Linked DNA regions of Homo sapiens: region 2 is linked to region 1. Evidence: promoter capture Hi-C in 16 types of primary human blood cells and fetal thymus (Javierre and others, 2016). All regions are on one chromosome and are shown on one strand. The core of a region is centred on a gene start or on the middle of the fragment in contact, and the rest is flanking DNA. Distances in the headings are between cores, read along the strand shown.

The links. Contacts are between HindIII fragments. The CHiCAGO score rates a contact against its expected background, and 5 or more counts as called.
Region 2: a contact is called between the fragment with the promoter of CHST7 here and the fragment with the promoter of LINC01545 in region 1, in 3 of 17 cell types (neutrophils, M0 macrophages and erythroblasts). The highest score is 5.8, in neutrophils.

What each region holds. Positions count from the first base shown.
Region 1 is chrX:46,895,582-46,902,392 of GRCh38, reverse strand. It overlaps LINC01545 (long intergenic non-protein coding RNA 1545), which reads left to right and starts at 2,689. Exons shown (of 4, transcript NR_046101.1): 1 at 2,689-2,789. The HindIII fragment of the contact is 5,808 bases long and covers 1-4,913 here.
Region 2 is chrX:46,570,767-46,577,577 of GRCh38, reverse strand. CHST7 (carbohydrate sulfotransferase 7) reads right to left here and starts at 3,813. Exons shown (of 2, transcript NM_019886.4): 1 at 2,155-3,813. The coding sequence starts at 3,646. The coding sequence ends at 2,186. RefSeq lists silencers at 2,566-2,625, 2,746-2,795. The HindIII fragment of the contact is 5,347 bases long and covers 237-5,583 here.

The DNA of each region.
Region 1 (6,811 bases), core at 1,440-3,939:
TCTCTTTCTTGCCCATCACGCCAAATTTCATATGATAAAAATCAATAACTGGCCCAATTTTCCTTAGACAAGTAAAATACCTACTTTCCATGAGTTACTTTGTCTGTGCACAGTAATACCTATGTAAATCCATACACAAATGCTCTGGAAGGATACAGACCAAACTGATAATTGTAGTTCCCAATGGGAGTGGGGATTGAAGAAGATTTTAGATTTATCTCCAATTTTTTCATGTAAAAAAAAAACAAAACCCTGTATTATTTGTGTAATTAACAATTAATAGCTGGGCACAGTGGCTCATGCCTGTAATCCCAGCACTTTGGGAGGCCGAGGTGGGCGGATCACAAGGTCAGGAGATCGAGACCATCCTGGTGGTTTCACCAACATGGTGAAACCCCGTCTCTACTAAAAATACAAAAATTAGCCGGGCGTGGTGGCGCGTGCCTGTAGTCCTAGCTACTTGGGAGGCTGAGGCAGGAGAGTCACTTGAACCAGGGAGGCGGAGGCTGCAGTGAGCAGAGATCATGCCACTGCACTCCAGCCTGGCAACAGAGCGAGACTCCATCTCAAAAAAAAAAATTAATAATGAAACAAAAACAATGTGTGCATTTGCCAAGACATGTGAGTCTGATATTGAACAGAATTTAAGATATGCTTTTTTCTCAATCAAAAATTATTTCACACTCTTGAAAACTAGTGACACCTAATATTTGCTCAGAATTTCACCACCATGACTCCGAAGAACATTTTCAGATAAAATTAGGAAAATTGCTGATTTTTCAAATAAAAAGCAATTGTAAACTCCAGCAACTTTATCTGTATTTATTGTTGAAGTGATAACATGTAAAAATGGTCTCCCTATGCACATAAGTAAATACAAAGCCACCTACAGTGAATCTTTATAGTCAATTTGATAAATTAATGAGCACTGGAAACCTCACTTGATTCTTCGCTACACAGTGATATCCAAAATAGTGCTGCTAGATAGAATCTGCAAAAAAATTGGAGAGGACTTTTAACTCATAGGACTTCACTTATGAAGTCTGTATTCATAGAAGGAGGCAAAAAAAATCAATATTTGTGGAACATCTACTGTGTTTCAAGTGTCTAACTTATGTTTTCTCATCTAATCCTTCCCAAGCCCTCAAGACAATAATCATTATTTCCCATTTTACAGGTAAGCAAACTAAGGCTCAGAGAGAAAATAACTTGTCCAACATTATTACTGGACAGTAGGCACACTTCAAAATAAAATGCTTTCTGCTCTTGTGTAGGTTCAAGTATTTCAAAGCACCTACCATTTCTAACTCAAGGGAGAGTGGATTCATTAAACATTTGTGACATGAGAAAATGATTTCTACAAATGAAATACACATCTGTTCTTTGAAATCCTTCTCAGGTGTTAACTTCAATTGAATTGAATAACTAACTTTTTAAATCAATGAACGGAAAACAGTTTAGTGGAATTAGGTAATAGCATACACCCAATGAGTGAGTTATAATCAGTATAGCTTCCTTTTACCAGATGGCTAATGACCTTCATAGACCAAATACATGTTACAACTGATGCCATGGATCCGTAATATTGACACTCTCTCCATAGAAGCCTATCTTAGCTTGTGATTTATTTTCACAAAGAACAAAATGTTCACTGATGGAAGTTAAAATCAAAATGAAACACCAAACATCACTGTAGTGGTCAGTTTTGTTTTTTGTTTTGTTTTGTTTTGAGACGGAGTCTTACTCTGTTGCCTAGGCTGGAGTATGGTGGTGTGATCTCGGCTCACTGCAACCTCCACTTGCTGGATTCAAGTGATTCTCCTGCCTCAGCCTCTCAAGTAGCTGGGATTACAGGCACTCACCACCACGTCTGGCTAATTTTTGTATTATTAGTAGAGACGAGGTTTCACCAGCCTTGAGGCCAGGCTGGTCTCGAACTCCTGGTCTCAAGTGACCCGCCCGCTTCAGCCTCCCAAAGTGCTGGGGTTATAGGCATGAGCCACTGTGCACCTGGCCTGTAATGGTCAGTTTTATGTGTTAACATAGCTAGGCTATAGTCCCTAGTTTATAACTGGCTAACATAAGCCAGTTATTCCATTAAAATCTAATCTAGGTGGTGCTGAGAGGTATTTTGTAGATGTGAATCAAGTCTATAATCAGTTGACTTTATGTAAACAAGATTATCCTAGATAATCTGGTGGGCCTGAATCAATCAGTTAAAGGCCTTAATAGCAGAATGGAGGCTTTCCTGAAGAAGAAATTCTGCCCATAGACAGCAGCATTGGCTTGTGCTCGAGAACTCCTGCCTGTCCTTTCTGATGGCCTGCTCTAAGGATTTCAGATTTCAGGCTTGCCTAGCTAGCCACCACAATCACATAAGCCAGTTCATCTATATCTATACCTATATCTATATCTATATCTACATGTGTCTCCTAATGGTTCTGTTTCTCTGTTAGAATCCTGACTGATACAATCACTATCTTTATTTTATATATAAATCCATAACTTATATGCACTTAAGAAAAAAAAACTAATTTTCCCTGGATTTCATATTCTTTCTTTGGATTGGATTTTTCTCCATCAGAAATTTCAAAAGGGATTAAGAAAGTGTCTGACTCCAGAGAATGCTCAGCTTCAGAGACTATCCATAATTTTCTTTCTTTCTTTTCTTTCTTTTTTTTAGATGAAGTCTTGCTCTGTCGCCCAGACTAGAGTGCGGTGGTGCGATCTCAGCTCACTGCAACCTCTGCCTCCTGGATTCAAGCAATTCTCCTGCCTCAGCCTCCCAGGTGCACGCCACCATGCCTGGCTAATTTTTGTAGAGACAGGGTTTTGCCATGTTGGCCAGGCTGGTCTTGAACTCCTGACCTCAAGTGATCTGCCCGCCTTGGCCTCCCAAAGTACTGGGATTACAAGCATGAGCCACCATGCCCGACCCATAATTTTCCATATTAGAAGTAAACTGCCCCATGTGTGGCTTAGGAGAGAGTTGTTCCTCTTGGGAACCATCATCTAAGTGAATTCTCAGAAGCCTCTGTATTTAGCTTCCTGAAGATAGACGCACCAGGGCCATAGGAGACAAAAGCCCATGAAAACTGCTCCAGGCCTTCCTCTATGCTCTATCCAAGTCCATTCATAAATCCTATGTGTCTGTTGAGGTGCAAGAACCAGTTTTCAAAAAATTTGTGTACATTTAAGGGGTAAAAGTGCAGTTTTGTTACGTGGATATAATGCATAGTTGTAACGTCCAGGCTTTTAGCATAACCATCACCTGAATAATATACATTGTACCCATTAAGTAATTTCTTATTCCTCACCACCCTCCCATCCTTCTGAGTTGCCAATGTCTATTATTCTATAGTAGAACCAGTTTGTTTGTTTGTTTTTTAATCATAACATCAATAATTTTCCTTAATTCCTTCAGAAATTTCTTGGGAATACTTTACTTGTCTGGGAGACATTACCCAAATGATTTCATTCCACTGTTTCATTTTTGTTTTTGAGACAGGGTCGCCTAGGCTGGAGTGCAGTGGTGTGATCATAGCTTACTGTAACCTTGAACTCCTGGGCTCAAGTGATCTTCCTGCCTCAGCCTCCCAAGTAGCTAGGACTATAGGTACATGCCATTATGCCCAGCTAATTAAATTTTTTTTTTTTTTTTTTTTTTTTTGTAGAGACAGGATCTTGCCGTCTTGTCCAAGCTGGTCTCAAACTCCTGGTCTCAGCTAATCCTCTCACCTCGACCTCCCAAATCATCCCACTTTTTATCCCCCTGAAGAAATTTTGGGGTTACTTTTAGAAATGTTCTTAAATCTTTTCTCTCCCTTTTTTTAACTGCTATTTTTTTATTCATCTATTTATTTAAAACTGATCTTCCAGAAATGATTTAATGTGGCCTGTGATGATACAATTAAATACAGCACAAAGATAAAAACTAAAATTGGCAGGAAAAAAGAGAAAGTAAAGAAGGAAAATAAAAAAGAGTAGGAGAGAAAAGGAGAAAGTGAAAAAGAAAAAAGGAAACAGATTAAAAATGAATAGTAGTCTATAAAATGTATGTGGCTCAAAAATTGGAAAAAAATAAGAAAAAATATATACTTCAAAATGTCCATGAGATAAAACCAAACCAACTAAGAGAATAACAACTATTTTTGGTGTGAAGACAGGAATTCCCCCAGAGATTTACTACAATATTCCCATTCTGTTGCTTTTTAAAAAGAGTAAACAAAGCATTGCTTCTAACCCCAGGTACCATGGTGAGGTTTAAAAAAAGACATCTTTAGGTAGCAACTGATTCCAGTTACATATTTTATTCTTACTTCTCCTAACTTTGGAAAGAATTTATCTGAAACTGCACACAAATTATGAAATCTTCATATTCCTTACTTAGTGCTTGACTCAAGAACCTATTTTGTCCAGTGGAGATAGTCAGGTATGGGGTATCAGAGACCAAGGAGTACTTAGAGAGAATCCTCCTAAAGTGACCTTGTGCGGGCATCAAACATCAAAGCTCAAACAGGATAAGGGGGTATCCACACGTGGTGGTGGTGGTGGAGGGGGATGCTCCCCAGCTTAGGGCATTGGAGTTTGAGCCAGTTGAAGAGTTCCTCCCACCTATCTATAGTGTTTCTTTTTTTGTTTGTTTTTGTTTTGTTTTGTTTTGTTTAGGAGCAGAGGTTTAATAGGCAGAAGAGAAGAGAAAGAGAAACAGCTCTCTCTATATATAGAGAGAGGGGTCTCCGAACAGAAAGGACCAGCAGGCGGCCCATGTGCCAGATTTTATAGTCAGGTTTGAGGAGGGGTGTCTGATTTACATGGGGCTCACAGATTGGTTTGATCAGGTATGACGTTTACATGGACTATGACATTCCCTGGTCTTGCCAAACAAGATTACTTCCCTGAACTGTAAAGCTTCCCACACATTGCATACAGAGAGGATAAGAGATATGGCGGTCGCAGACAGGAAAGGAGGAAATTACAAAAGGAAAGTTGGAGATCCTGTTGCCGACACCCCATCGAGGCAATTGGAGGCTGGGGCCAGTCCAGAAGCCTTTGGATAACACTGGGAGCTAGCCCTGGTCAGAAATCCTCAGCTGCCTCAGGACTTCTTCCAGCCCCACCTGATGGCTAAGTCTTCCGTGAAAGGAAGCTGGTTCAAACATGGCCAATATGCCCAGCAACCCATGGGTGCCGGGAGATTCTCCATGTTCTCCCTAGTAAGCCTGTCCCCCAAGTCTTTTAAGGCTGGCAGCCACACTAATCGTTTTTAAATGGCTGAAGGGGGCCCAGTATTTGGTTTGATTTGGTTCTAAAATGGAAGCCAAGAGCCTCGAAATGAAAGGACAGAGTTGGAGTCCCCTCATCTATTCATCGTTTCGGTGAATGTTGCACCTTGGTATCTCGGATGAGGTCCCCATTATGAAGTGACTACGTTGTCTGGGGTATATACCCTGGGGTTCATTGTCACGCGACAGGAAAATTTAGGACACGGACACACACAAGGAGTTTAGGAGTGGAGGTTTAATAGGCAGAAGACAAGAGAAAGAGAAACAGCTCTCTGTCTATAGAAAGAGAGGTCTCCGAGCGGAAAGGACCCTATGGTGTATTTTAAACTAAACAGATAATGCATGCTTCGTGTGGCAAATACTGATAGTTGCTTACCCAATAGCCACTCTTTTCACCTTTACTTTCAGAACTTCAATTTTTCAGCAAAACAATGTGCCTAGTAAAAATAATTCCTCAGACTCCCTTGAAGCCAGAATGGACATGTGATCCAGCTCTGGCAAATGAGATCTAAGCAGAAGTCTACTGCATGAGGCTTCTGGGAAAGTTATTGTTTTCCTGATGAAAGGGGACAGACTTAGCTGGCCTTTTGCCACTCTCTTTATTCTTTCTGCCTAGAATGCAGTCACAATACTTAAGAGGTATGAGAGCTATCTTACCAGCAAATAGAAAAAACTACATGATTAGGATGGCCAGGAAGGAAGACAGAAAGAGCCCAGGACCTTTCTATCGCACTAACCCACTTTCTAACCCACTGTGGGTTGCCTCCCTCAAGCCTTTGTGTTACATGAGAACCAGGTATGAGAGCTATCTTACCAGCAAATAGAAAAAACTACATGATTAGGATGGCCAGGAAGGAAGACAGAGCCCAGGACCTTTCTATCCCACTAACCCACTTTCTAACCCACTGTGGGTTGCCTCCCTCAAGCCTTTGTGTTACATGAGAACCAGCATGTTATTCCTTTTTTGGTAACCTGCTAACGGTTCTCTTCACCCTCCTACCCCCATCCTACAGTGTTCAGCTCATTTCAATAAGTTACTGATTTAGTGGTATTAATGTACTAGAACCTCCTCGAACATATTCATATTTGCATTCATCCTACCAGCTTCTGCCTCAGGCAGTATTTGGCTGCCTAAGGCCAAGATGGGGCAGATATAGAAGTCTTGGTGTTGTCCACAGTGGGTTTTGTGTCATTTTGGAAAAAATAAGACATAAGAGAAGTAATACTTCAATGTTTTATATGATTAAGGGGAAGGAGAACTAACACTAGGGCTGGTGCTTTTACTTATAGAATGCTCAAAATAACTGCAAAGCATGCATCACTCTCTTTTTGCAGAGGAGGAAACTAAAGACATTACATAGCTGATGAAGATCTAGGCAGGTAGTATGTAGCAGAATATAAGTCAAACTCAGGTCTGATGGTTCTCAAATCCACACTTGTTCTTTGCAACTCTGACACAACTAGCCAAAATGATCATGGGTCAGTGGCTTCCTGGAGGAGATAGAACTTGGACTAGTCCTGAAGGA
Region 2 (6,811 bases), core at 2,564-5,063, 330 kb after region 1:
TGCCTAACTCAGTGCATGACACATAGCCCTTCAGTAAGGATCCCTCCCCCTCTCTTCTCCTCCCTTCTCTAGAATAGAGTGTGACAAACTTTTGGAAAACCCATCAGTGAGTCGGCAGTAACGTTATCTTCCTAGGAACCAAGAATACAAGCACTGTAATCAACCCACTGATTGGTGGTAAGTGCCCAATGCGGGAGGAAGGACTCAGTCACTAAAGTCTGGAAGAGCCTAAAGCTTGCTCCCAGATGTCCCTGCAGCCCTGCAAAGGAAGCCCCATCGGCCTTCCAAACAGCAACACCAGTGTCTTCCCTCACAGTCACTGTCACCCACACAGACTCTAACCTCCTAGAGGGCAAAGACTGTCCTCTACCCTCCTCTCTATTCTCTTTAATGCTTCACCCCAGCCAGTACTCAAATAGATGTTAGTAAAAATGAAAAAAAAAAAAAAAAAAAAGCAAAAGTTTCTGGGAGATTGTCATGTCTTAAAGCCATAAAATGCACAGCATTCCGCCCAGGGGAGGAGTTCCCTCAGGCCTGTGAAGAAGGGTTAGGGACAATTACTGTTATATCTGTAAATACAGGATCAGCAGATGAAAGGATGTTTTTGTTAAGATGTGACAAGTCACCCTGTGCCTTACCTTCCATCACTCTGGAAATCAGGAAAGAACACAGACTTCCTAGCAATTTCAGAAACTGACTAAGAAAACCATTTGATTACTGGGAGAAAAATTAGTTAGCCAGCTTCTGAAATCACTCTGAAACCCTGGTTCTGTAACAACAACAAAATCCCTCTTCATTAATATCTTCAACGTTTGTCCTCAGAGCTTCATCTCAGGGGAATGCTGAATTACACTATAAAATAATGAATGGAAACTTAACTCACTTCCGCCCACCCAGCACTACTTTTCCTCCTCCTCTGGACTGACTGCACAGTGCAGAAGGCGGCACCCTTCCAACTCACATAAAGTTTGGGGAAACACACTCCCATGTCACTAAGTAGACTCCTATGGTCAGCACTGTGCAGAACAAACCCTTCCCTCAGGCCATACACTGACCCACACAGAACACATTTTGAGACTGTTTAAGCCCCACTTTAGCATCTTCAGATATACAGAAAAAAACAAAAAACAAAAATGGAAAAACAAAAAAGAGGGGGCAGTGTCTTTTCACAAAGCTCCTCCTGCAGTCACAAACTGCTACTGCCAATTGAAGGCTCCATCTGTCAAACGGATGGGGTGGAGTGGGGGACACCCAACCCTGAGGTCTTGTCGACACTAGAGGAAGCTGACCAGGCAGCTTTTGTGACCTGATGTGAATGGGATATGGTCAAATATCCTGCAAACGCCAGCTACAGGGAGAAGGGGGAAGGGAGAGGAGGAGGGGAAGGGGGAGGAAGAGGAAGAGAGGGAGAGGGGAAATGAGAGAGGGAAGGAGGGGGAGGGGAGACAGAGAGGCGCACATGAGCCAGGGGAAAGCAAGTCTATTCACTACACAAGCGCCTGAGACACACAATGTGCAAGAAGTGTTGCAAGAGCCGCTGGACTGTGCCTGCATGTTTGGAAATTCAGGAGAAAAGCCCTGGAGCCTGCGCATAAAACAGACAGAGAAGAAACATGAAACAGAAAGATTAGGGATAGGTAGGGTTAGAATCAATGCCTTTCCACCAAACTCTCTGCTTTTGGCTTTCTCTGTGCCTGTAAACACCATTGCAAAGTCTCCTCACAGGACAAACTGGCATCAAGATAACTCCATAATCATCAACCTCAAATGGTTTCCGAAATCCTATACTCCACATGTCAATTCCCAGTCTCACGGCTCATTATGACTGTTTCAAACCTTCTCTACTCTCCTCAGCCCTCTGAAACCTCCTACTTCATACAGGGGAATGGGAATGCAGAGACCTGGCTTCCACCTCAGTCACGCCTAAATATCCTCTCTCATCTCAGGATCTCCCTCTAAGGAGGCGCGAGGCTAAGCTGGAGATTCCGATGAATCTACCAAATTCTACGAGCAGGACTTTCCCATCCTCTTGGACCTGATCTGATAGAATGGGATCCAGCATGGTACCCTCCCCCCTACACTTCCCCCTCCCCAGGCCATTCCAGGCTCCCGGAAGACCAGTCCCGGTCCCTGCCTTGCCCCGGGCCACCTTACCCGGATCCGTGCCGGGGACAGGGATGGGAGGCTACGTGGCGCCGTCGGCATCCATCTCCAGCGGCGTCTCCCCTTCCCTGGGCTGCTCCGCGTCGCCCTCCTCTCCGCTGCGAGGGTAGGCGAGCAGACGCATGGCTGGAGCGCAGGCGGCCTCCACCTGGCGCACCTGCTCTCGGCTCAGGCGCTCGCGCCAGGCGTGCACCGCCTCCCGGGCGTCGCGCGCTGACAGGTGGAAGGGCCGGTCGGCGCCGTAGGCCGCGCCGCGAGTCATGTTGAGCGCGAAGGCATCGAGCGCTGCGAGCGCGCGTAGCCCGGAGAAGCGCAGCAGGCGGCGCAGCTGGGCGCGTGGCTGCCGCACCAGGTCCTCATAGCGCAGCCTCAGGTAGCGGCGCCGCAGCCAGGCGGGCGCGCCGCGCGCGAAAAGCAGATCGCGCAGCCAGGCTTCGCAGATCACCTCGAGCGCACCGGTCAGGAAGAAATCGGCGCGCGGCGCGGCGGGCAGCGCGCGAGACTGGCCCCCGGGGCGAGCACCCACGCCGTGCGCCAGCAGCACACGGTGGAAGCGGTCGCCCCTCTGGCGGGTGCGCAGCACCTGGATGCTCTCGCGCAGCAGTCCCTGCCTAGACTTGAGGCGCGAGTTGTGCACCGCCCTCGGGTCGCGGAAAAGCTGCACCACCTTCAGGTTGAGGCCTGGATCACGCAACAGGGGCACCAGCACGCCCAGATCGAGCAGGCGCACGTCCTTGATGACCACCACCGGGTACTTTCGGCACTCGGCCTCCAGGGCGCGTATCGCCACGGGTGGGCAGCTGCGCTCGCAGGCGGTGTCCTCGACGAGGCCCACCTCGGCCCGGGCACGGGGTGCGCCAGGACACAGTGGCGGCGAGCAGATGACCTTGTTAGTCCGCCAGCGGAAGAGGGCGGCCGTGGTAAGATTGGCCGTGTCCGGGGCGCGCGCAGCGGGGTCCCCCGGCGGCGCGTACAGCCGCAGCACGGAGAAGTCGCAGCGGAAGAGCGAACGCAGCATGTCGCGCAGCGCGCCCTGCAAGCTCTCGGCGTCGCCCGGATACAGCGCCTGCCATAGATGCCACATGGGCTCATACAAGTAGAAAACGTCCGGGTGCTGGTTAAAGAGTTCGCCCAGGAAGGACGAGCCGGTGCGCCAGGTGGCATGCACGTAGATGTGCTGCTTCTCGCGAGACACTGCCTCCCCGACAGCGCCGCTGAGGTTGCTTGGGAACCGAGGAGACTGGTTCGCGCCCCCTTCCTCGGCGGCCCGCGCCTCCGCTCCCTGCTCGCGTTCGCCGGCCGCCGCCGCCTCCAGGCTCCACACTCCCAGGCTGCGCTGCAGGCCGGGGCAGTGCTCGGCGCCCTTGTCCCCGTCGCGGCCGCCGTCCAATACGGAGGGGACGAGCAACAGCACCAGCGTGTACAGCACCAACAGCAGCGCGAACTTGCAGTACTCTCGGCGTCGCCGCCGCCGGCCCTTCATCGTTCACCGACCCTCCAGAGCGGGTCGGGCGCCAGTCTTCTCCCGTTCCTCAGAAATCCCGTGCCAGGTCCGCTCCTGTGGCCTCTCCCGGCCCCTCTGCGCCGGGAGGAGCAGAGCCGCGGGGCCGCGCATCCACAAGGGGAAACTTGGAAGGCGGTGGTGCTACTGACGGCGCCCCTGCCCTCTCGGCTTAGCAGCCGGAGAGCCGCCTATTGGCCGGCTTGGCAGCCGCCCGCCCCGCCTTTCTGCCCGCCTGGGTTCGCCCACGGCTCTGCCAGATCTGGGCGGGGCTGTAGCGGGGCTGGGACGCCGGCTTACCCAGCCAGACCCCCACCTTTCCCCAAACCCTCCGTAATGAAGTCTTCATCAATGACTTCAGGCAAAGGAGGGGCCTGTGTGTACAGAATGTACCCAGTAAAGGGCCATAGACCCCACCCGGAGAAGGTCACTGCCTCTTCTGTTTTATGTCCCCTGCCTAGCCATCGCTATCCTAGGCAGATAAACACTCGCCACTATACATCCAGCGCCCCCATCAGCCCTGGAGTGGGTGTTACTGAGTTCCGGACTGAAAGATAGAAGATTGTACGTGGCAGAGCGGTCCAGGGGGGTTGGAGATACTACTGCATCCACGCAGCACATTTCATAAAGTCTAGCCTTTGTGAAATTCTAAGTGTTGTGTTCCTTAGGGTTTCACCAGCTGATGGGCTCTGCACATTTTACCAATACTCTGGGGCCCAGTTTGGTCATTTGTAAAATGTGAATAATTCTTAGTACCCATGTACCTCCTGGGATTGCGAGATTTGGGGGTTGTTACCACAGTATAACCCAGCCTATTCTGACACCTATGAGCAAAAGACATTTACAGAATCAAAGTGGTAGAATGGTGACCTTTCTCAGGAGCTCGGTGTTTAAAAGGACCCGTAAGAAGAAATGTGTACCCAAAGATAGATGAAAAAGAGACAGGAAGTCCAACAGGCAGATGAAGACTAGAGTTACTAAAATTCAAAACAGAACCAAAAAAGATACATTTTGCTCTGTTTCATCAGGCTAATGAATAAGGAAGTGAGAGCTTCCTTTCACCAGCTTGGGGAAGGTGTTGTAAAGTTAATAAAACATAGAAAGCATATCTACTTATCTCCACCAGGGGAAGGTGTTCAAATTGGAAGAGTGAGAACATATGCAATGCTCTCCACTGGTCTTTTTCATCACGGAAGCTACTCCACCTGTGAAACCACTGACTCAAGCATTTCGTTTTCTTTCCACAATTCCCCTCTTCTTCCAGCCAGTTGTTCAAATCTTCCCTATTCTCCAACCTCCACTTTTTGACCACCACCCCCACTTTCTTCTCAATTTTTCATATTCAGCTGAAAGATGCCATACCATTATTTTAATAACACTCCCTCCAATAAGCTAAACTCACGTGCCCTCTGCCTTTTCATTACTCATCTAGCAAAATCCCCCAAACCCTGCTTTTGGCTTTCTCTGTGCCTGCAAACACCACTGCGAAACATTTCTCCACAGGTGTGAGCCAGGCACAGTGGCTCACGCCTGTAATCTCAGCACTTTGGGAGCCCACAGAACAGATCAGCATCAAGATAACCTCATAATCATCAACCTGAAATGGTTGCTGAAATCTTAGGTTCTTCATGTCACTTCCCAGTCTCCAGTTCCATTATGATGATTTCAAACCTTCTCTAGTCTCCTCAGACTTCTGATACCCCTCTTCCCCCACCCACCTCTTCTCAGCACATGACCTTACTGCCTACTTCATAAAGAAACCATGTTAGACGATCTCTCACTTTTCCACTACCAAACTCATATATGCATTGACCTCTGTACACATCTCGTTTATAGCAAGGATATGATTTTGCAATATTAATCTACAACTTTCCCTTCTGTTTTCACTTTTCCCTCCTCTCTGGCTTTTTTAAAAAGCTTTGAGACAGGGTCTGGCTCTGTCACCCAGGCTGGAGTGCGGTGGCACTATCACCACTCACTGCAGCCTCAACCTCTCAAGCCCAAGCGATCTTCCTACCTCAGCCTCCCAAGCAGCTGAGACCACAGGCATGTGGACCACACCCAGCTAATTTTGTTTGTTTGTTTGTTTTTTGTAGAGACCGGGGTCTGTATGTTGCCCAGGCTGGTCTTGAACTCGTGGGCTCAAGTGATCCTCCCACTTCGGCCTTGTGCTGGGATTACAGGCCTGAGCTACTGTGCCTGGCCTCCTCTCATCTTTTAAGCAAGTAGGTGGCTCTGTGCTGGTGTGAGGGGAGAGGTGTGGCTGGGCAGAATGCAAATAGTTGCTGGTGTTTCCCGCTTCCCCCCACCCCCCGCCCTCCGCTCCAAAAGCCTCAACTCTGATAGTGGAAAGTGTGATAGGTTTTTTAAATAACCACAAAGTATTCCCCTCCTCTGTTTTGCCTTTGGGCAATGCCTTCCCATACTGACTCTGGGATGACCATGTGGCTTGCATTGGCCTGTGGGACAGTAGCAAACATGACACAGCAAAGGTTTGAAAAATACTCCTGCTGTGGGAATTGCCCTCATCCTGCTCTTTGGAACCCTGAGATCGGCTCGTGAAGAAGCCTGGGTTAGCAACATGGCTCAGAAAATAAGCCCTCCCAGCTGAGGCCCCCCACCCCCCAGACAAACAAGCCTGCTGACCGCCAGACAGGTGAGAAAGGAGATAGATCCTCGACCAGTGCTTCTCAAACTTTAATGCTTGAAGGCTCCTGTCAAAATGCAGAAAGTGGGCCTGGCCCAGTGGCTCACACCTGTAATCCCAACGCTTTGGGAGGCCGACGCGGGTGGGTATCCTGAGCCTAGGAGTTCAAGACCAGCCTGGGCAACATGGTGAAACCCCGTCTCTACCAAAAACACAAAAAAAGTTAACCAAGCATGGTGGCGTGCACCTGTAGTCCCAACTACTTGGAAGGCTGAGGCGGGAGGATCACTTGAGCCCAGGAGGTGGAGATTGTAGTGAGCCGAGGTCATGCCACTGCACTCCAACCTGGGTGACAGAGTGAGACCTCATCTCAAAAAAAAAAAAAAAGCAGAAAATGATTCATTACACCTAGGGTGGGGCCAGAGAGACTACATTTCTTTTCTTTCTTCTTCTCCTTCTTCTTTCTTCTTTCTTCTTCTTTTTTTAAATAGACAGGGTCT